Linked DNA regions of Homo sapiens: region 2 is linked to region 1. Evidence: promoter capture Hi-C in 16 types of primary human blood cells and fetal thymus (Javierre and others, 2016). All regions are on one chromosome and are shown on one strand. Each heading gives the region's core, a stretch centred on a gene start or on the middle of the fragment in contact. The rest is flanking DNA. Distances are from core to core; before and after follow the strand shown.

Region 1 (3,288 bases), core at 309-2,808:
TTTATTTTTTTGAGAGGAGTCTGGCCGTGTAGCCCAGGCTGGAGTGCAGTGGCGCGATCTCGGCTCACTGCAACCTCCGCCTCCCAAGTTCAAGCAATTAACCTGCCTCAGCCCCAGAGTAGCTGGGACTACAGGCGCACGCCGCCACCCCCGAAACATTTTTTGAATTTTAGTAGAGACGGGGTTTCACCGTGTTGCCCGGGCTGGTGTCGAACTTCTGAGCTCAGCCAATCCCCCAGCTTTGGCTTCCCAAAGTGCTGGGATTACAGGTGTGAGCCACCGCGCTTTTTGGTTTCCAATTCTCTTCCCCAAGAGGCCAGGAATTTTTGCATGAGTTGCCGGACACTGAAGTGATTTGGGACAATACATTGTGTGCCAACGACTTCAAGGTCCCTTTTCAACAAAGGACTGGAATCTTACCGAGATAAATCCCAAGACATGTTTGTAGCAATGCAAAGGACCACAGAAATCTAGACAAATTATTTAATTTTGCAGCTACAGAAACCTAGGATCTCAGGGGCTGGGATACTCCTCAGTTATCCAATCGGGCAGGGCCTAAAACCCAGGTTCAGTCGCCTGGCTCCGAGCTTTTTCCATCATACCAGCTGCGTCTCATTAACTCCACCTCCGAAAGTGCTAAGGAAGTTCCCTCCCAGTGCCTACCCAGGCAGGGTGGGGCGATTCTGTGGCATGGAACAAACCGGGAAAACGACATTTTCCAACTCTCAGCACACAGGCTGCTTTTTATCATTCCTACGGGGCGGGAGGGGGCAGGGAGAGAAGGCTAAGACACCGGGTCCAGTACCCAGAGATTCTAGGGAGAGATCTCTGAGATTGCCTACTTGGTGAGGCCACCTTACTTTCTCCTGGTCTGTTTTCCCCTGTGGGGTGGCTGCATGAAACGTCCTGCTTGGAGGGTTCCCCAATATAAGGTGGACTATTCTGAATGTAGGTCGGGGTGAGCAAGTTCCTGCCGCCGCCCCGTCTCTGCGGTCCTCGGAAGTCTAGGTGGGCTCTTCCTTGCCTTGCCTCTTTCTCCCCAACGGCGGGAGCAGCCCAGGGTTGGGGTGGCTGCGGTCGCCTTGCTCTCTCCACTTCCACGTCTCTTACTCCAGGGAGTTTCATCCGGTCCTCCGTCCTCGGCCCCCACCTTTTAAAACATTTTCCAAAACTACCCCATTAAAAGTGTGCGACTTCTCCGGGCCTGCAGAAGGAGCTCCTGCAGCCCGGCATTCCTCGGATTCCAGCGCTGTGACGTCCCCAAGGACGGCGCGCCTCCAGCTCGGGAGCTCGGGAGCTGGGGCTCCACGTTTCAGCGCGCGCCCGCGGCGCCCCCGGCGCGCGCCCTCCCGGGCCGCATTCCTCCCCGCCCCCGGCCGCGCGCCCAGCGCTCCCTCCGCCTCCCGGCCCCCAGGGCCGCGGAGCCCGGCTCTGGGGTGGGGGAGCCGTGGCCGCCGGCGCCTGCTCCGTCCCCTCCCACTCGCACGGCCCCTTCCTCCCTCCTCTCCCGGCCGCTCGCATTTCCTGCCGCTCTGGCTCTCCCGGCCCCTCAAAGTTCTTTCCAACTTTTTCTCGGCGGAGTGAGCGCAGCGGGCGCAGACTCGGGGGCAGGTTGCTGTGCTTCTCCGGGCTCAGCCGCCTGCTCTCCTGGCTCAGGTCCTCGGGGAGCCCTAGACAGACATCAAGTGGCCACTGGCGCTCCTTCCCCTCCCAGCTGAGCCATCCTCCCCGGCCTCCTCGGGCGGGACAGCCCCGTGCTTAGGTTTTTCTCCTTTTCTCCCCCGGTGCGCCTCTGCTCGGACTCTCGCGCCGGGATCGCGGCGGAAACCTCCCTCCCCTTTCGCCTCCTGCGGCTCCTTCCCTTCGCCCCTCCTCCGCCAGTCACTGGAATCAATTCCGTGGGGAATCGGCTCCGCCGCCGCGAAGGACAGCCTTTCCGCGCGGGACTCCGGGGCGCCACGGGGGCCATGTAAGCAGGTAAGCCCCGTCCAAGCCGGGAGTTGGGCCCGAGGTTGGAGGCCGCCTTGGCGCTCCGGGCGCCCTGCAGATGACTTGGGCAGACGCTGGCAACGCCAACTTGCGATTGGCGCCCCGGGACGCCTGGCAGGGCAGCCTGGGGCGCGGGGTGGCCGGGCCGCAGGGGTGTTATCTCGCGGTGGGAGCTGCCCGCGGTGAGGCGCAAAGCTGGTCCCGGGAGCGAGCTGGAAGGTGAGCGCAGTCTGGGGAGTTTGTGGTTAAACCCACACCCTGGTCCCCTCTCTCCATTCCCTTCTGCGTTTTGGGAACGAGAGAGGGCCTCGGAAGGGCAACTAGAGATACCTAGACCTTGGGGGCTAGAGGATGAAAGACGAACGACGTCGCGGTCGCTGCAGCGGTAGGGGGATGCAGCTGCCCGACGCTCCCAATCACACCCCACCACCACCGGGAAGGAATCTTGAGGGGAGCGGAGTTTTCCTGCCCTCTCACTAGGCCCCAGTGGTGCCACCGAACTCCTGGGCGTCGAGGCTCCTACTTGGGTGGTCGAGCTGGCTCGTAGAAAAAAAGCTGTGGCCAAACAATTTCAGATCAGGTCTTCACCTCAAACTTCCAAAGTTGTAGGTATTAACAGCCTCTCCTTCCCCACGTGACCCCCAGATCTCAGGTTTGAATACTTGTAAATGGGGTTTACACCTTTTCGTTTGGAGAGAGCAGTGAGGTAACGCTGCCCCTATCTCCCTTTCCCTCTCACTTCCTTGGGTTCTTGTTCTCCAACCTTCTCATCCCCACCTACAATTTCAGAAATTGTGGGGTTTCCGCTTAAGTCTAGGGACTGGCTGTCGCAGGTTCTTTGTGAAGGTGAGGAATCTCTAGACTGCAGGTGCGGGCAGTTACAGAGTTTCCACCAATGTGTTAACTTCTTGAAATGGATTAGTTTACTCATTCATCCAACAAACCCAGCTTCTACTCTGCTAGGAACAGGATAGAAAGATGCTAAATGAGATCACAGGGCAGGAGTCTGCAGCCTAGTGGAGGAAACTTGAAGGCCGGTGAAGAATGATAATACATGGAAGAGGGGTTCTGTGAGAGTCTGAGGCGAGCTTGGTCCTGGTGAAGGGTGCACTACACTTAGAGGATAGAGGTTGTGCTCCTCTGGAGGGTGTATTCCAGGCAGAGGAAACAGCTCGTGCAGAGTGAACACAAGAAGGACAGAAAGTTTCCCTAGCCATCTGGGGGCCTGAGGGGCATTTATGGCCATGTTGGTGCAGTGTTGCTGGGATAGCATTCTCTCCACCCCCAATATCAGAAATA
Region 2 (3,288 bases), core at 581-3,080, 220 kb after region 1:
CAGTGAGGAGAGCTGAAATAAGCAAGGCCCTTGGCACTGTGCCCTGCCCAAAGTAAAATACCCAAAGCACAAGGCCATCAAGGCTCTGTCCTTCATGGTCCTCCACCACATGGGGCTCCCAGCCAAACTAGCCAAAATAAGGGGAAATAAAATCATACAACTCCAACAGGATGGACACCACATTGTGGGTGGTCAGTACGCCTTTACACATTTACTAGGAGACATTCCTCCTTTGGTTTTCAGAATCTTAAATCCATCCTTCTCCTGCTCCCTCTTTCCAACTTCCCACCTTGCCTTGTTGGCGAGGGATAATAAGCTATCAGGGCAGTTGTAAAGGATATATTTATAGTGCTTGGCCCTCCGGAACTCTTCAATGACGTTGCGTGCATATCTGACCATGTCTCGGATGGCTTCTGCCTTTGGGGGATCGCTGAGCTTCCGGATTTCCACCTTGGCCTTATCCTGAAGGAAACGTCCACAAGGGCAAGGCGTTACCGCCCATGGAAACCACACTGATAGGGAAACCTCTCATATAATACACATTCCCACACAGCGGTCGACACTGGCCCATTCCAAGGTTACAAAAGAATGAAAGGAAATCAGGCAATGCATCTGAAGAAATTCAGTACTCCATTACCTTTTTACAGAAACAAAACAAAAAGATTAATTTTCTAGATACTCCTTATCTAAAATGTGTTGGCTATGGGCAGATATATGTGTTTACACATCTACGAATCAAGAGACTAGAATAAGGAAGGATGGCATTGACGGAACAATTTGGAAAATGCCAGGGAAACTTCCACATATTCTGGTGAACAGGTTGGAAAGCCTAGAGATTATACTCATGTGCTTTTCCCCCCTCCTCCTTTGAGCAGTTGTTTCTTTTCAAGAAAGAGCAGTTCGGCAGACCTTTCTCCTGTTTGTACAGTGTAATGGAAATGTTTTCTTTAGCTACTAGGAGCAGGTCTGAACAGAGACCTGGTCTAACTAGATTCCCTTTGGCTGTCTTTGTAAGGAGGGTTTAAAGGGTCAAAAAGATCCTAGAGGAGATCCGCCAAGTCAGACAAGCTCTTCAGCAGAGAGGTCCTGAGATCAGAGTGCAGTCAGCGCTCTTGCCCAATGAACAACCTTACCTTGTCCTTGGTGGTACACTCCTGGCACTCACAGGTAAAGAAATAAGAATCTCTTAACCGGTCATTTCTATCTTCCGTTGGGTACAGGAGATCAATATAGCTGGTAAAAACCTACGGGGTCCAAAAAGATAAAGCTTCAGTCTGCTACAGGTAAACTCAATCCTTGTCATTCCCGTGCCTTTGCAGTCACCTGCAGGGCCCATGCAGAGGATAAGGCGGGCTGCAGCGGAGGAATGCGCTGTTTACTTTAAGGCACGGAATTCCTGAACTGAGCAGCCACCTGACGTTGGCTTTCTCTGGAAGGTGTTCACTAATCCACAGCTGAACTGGGAGCTGAAGCCAAGGTGCAGGTTAGTGGAAAGAGTCTGTAGAATCAAGGAGTCCTTAAAACAGTGTCCTGGAGGGTTCAGAGGATCCCTGCCTCCCTCAGCTGCCTCTGCCTGGCCTTCATGTAGTTTCATGTTTCACCACCTGAGACGGCGCAAATGCTTCGTTGCCGTCATCACTGGATGCTGCGTGCAGGGGAGGGCATGAGCACGCACACACCACACACATGCAGCTAAGCTCCCCTTCTCCTCACATCAACTGGCAATGGAGCAAGAGGCTCCACTCAGTGGGCTGGGACCCACAGCTCTGGGTGGCCAGCGGAGGGTGAACACATCTTCTAGGACACCAGAATGCTGCGGCCTGGCCCAGCGGGCAGCTCCTGATCCTGCAGGGCAGCGAGCTTGGAAAGTCCTTACCTTTGGTTCATGGGGCTCCACCGTCCTTGCCTTTTCCTAATGGGGTCTGTAACTAAGGCTTGGAGCATATGGAGGAGACCAGCATTTAGATGTCCATTATCTACTCACTGGGACAGCACTGGCTACTCATCCCACACAATCAGGCAAATGTCTGACTGAACAGATGGATCTCATGAAGCCGCTAGCGTGCCAGTGACCACGGGCACCACCAGGCAGGCAGGGGAGGACACGCACAGGGCTGGGTGCTGCAGGGGCAGCTAAGCTCTCCCCAGCCCATGGGGAGGTACTGGACACGTTGCAGCTCACCCCGAAACCCTGGGGAATGGGGTTTCTCCTTCTCTGAAGGGTAAGTAATCCCCAAAGCACTGACTTCCCAAAAATGAGGTTACTGCGTTTCAGATCTGGGAGAACATAAGGGCAAAAGGAAACTGCAGCCACCCCTGCCCTGCCTCACACCACAAGAGCCTGCCAACAATCTCTGTAATGACTGACTCACAGTGCAACATGCGGAAGCTTCCAGAAGATGGCGACAAAGGCCACTCCAGTACCACTGCTCCCAGCCAGACTGAGCCAGCTTAGGTGACAACCTGCTCATCTCTGCAGTCAGCCCACAGGTGCACTGGAGCCTGGGTGACTGCATTCTGACTGGCTGCAATTATCTGTTTCAAGAAAGGCTTCAGAGCAGTCTCCATAAGACCTTTGGAAACTCAGACACCCCAGCCGAAAGGGGACACACCCTCATCGTAATGGATTTAGCTGAAGGTAGAAGGGCCAACCTGCCTGCATCTTGGGCTTCAGCTCCCAGTGCAGCTGTGGATTAGTGAGTGCCTTCCAGAGAAAGCAAAGCACTTGTCATTCAGCACGCTGACAGTTATATTTTACACTTCACACTTCAAATACCCAGGCATGCACCGTAAAATAGCATTACAAATTGCTAAACTGAAATTAACCCAAGTGTGATTACAAGTTCCTAAAAACTCATGTGTCTTGCTGGGAATTTACTTAAGAACACAGAGCATACTACAGCAATCCATCAGGCCAGCCCTTCCCAGGTGAGACGTCTCATGAGGTAGTCAGGAATCACACATGGGAAGGGAACAGGGAATCGCTGAGCAGGTGATGGGAAGACTGGTTCTCTCCACGTCCTGAAGCTGAGGAGGGAAACTAAGGTGCCCCTTGGCCACAGACTGCCTTGACTTCTCCTATTACTGCATATACCTGGACTTTTGATTTAGATTCCTAAAAAGTGAACTGCGACCTGAAGTTCAGATGTGGAACTGATAGAACACGAAATTCTGATGTGTCCCTTGGAGTGCCAGCTCTTTAGCTACTGCTGCGTTGCTTGCTTTCTTTTGCTTTGGACCTTTGAGGGATGGTGGGGAACAAGCAAGAATTCACCAAAAAAAATAAAA

Evidence for each region. The method cuts DNA at HindIII sites, captures the fragments that hold promoters and counts their contacts. A CHiCAGO score of 5 or more calls a contact.
Region 2: a fragment that was not itself captured here is called in contact with the fragment with the promoter of PTPN14 in region 1 in 1 of 17 cell types (endothelial precursors); the score reaches 5.0 in endothelial precursors.

The regions. Positions count from the first base shown.
Region 1 is chr1:214,549,872-214,553,159 of GRCh38, reverse strand. PTPN14 (protein tyrosine phosphatase non-receptor type 14) reads left to right here and starts at 1,558. Exons shown (of 19, transcript NM_005401.5): 1 at 1,558-1,977. RefSeq lists enhancers at 432-1,252, 1,253-2,073, 2,074-2,895. The HindIII fragment of the contact is 5,292 bases long and covers 1-3,288 here.
Region 2 is chr1:214,328,124-214,331,411 of GRCh38, reverse strand. SMYD2 (SET and MYND domain containing 2) reads right to left here. Exons shown (of 12, transcript NM_020197.3): 8 at 1,134-1,244; 9 at 342-462. Among named protein-coding and RNA genes, the nearest start is that of SMYD2, 49 kb to the right of the region's middle. RefSeq lists an enhancer at 2,256-2,345 and a silencer at 2,272-2,566. The HindIII fragment of the contact is 1,122 bases long and covers 1,270-2,391 here.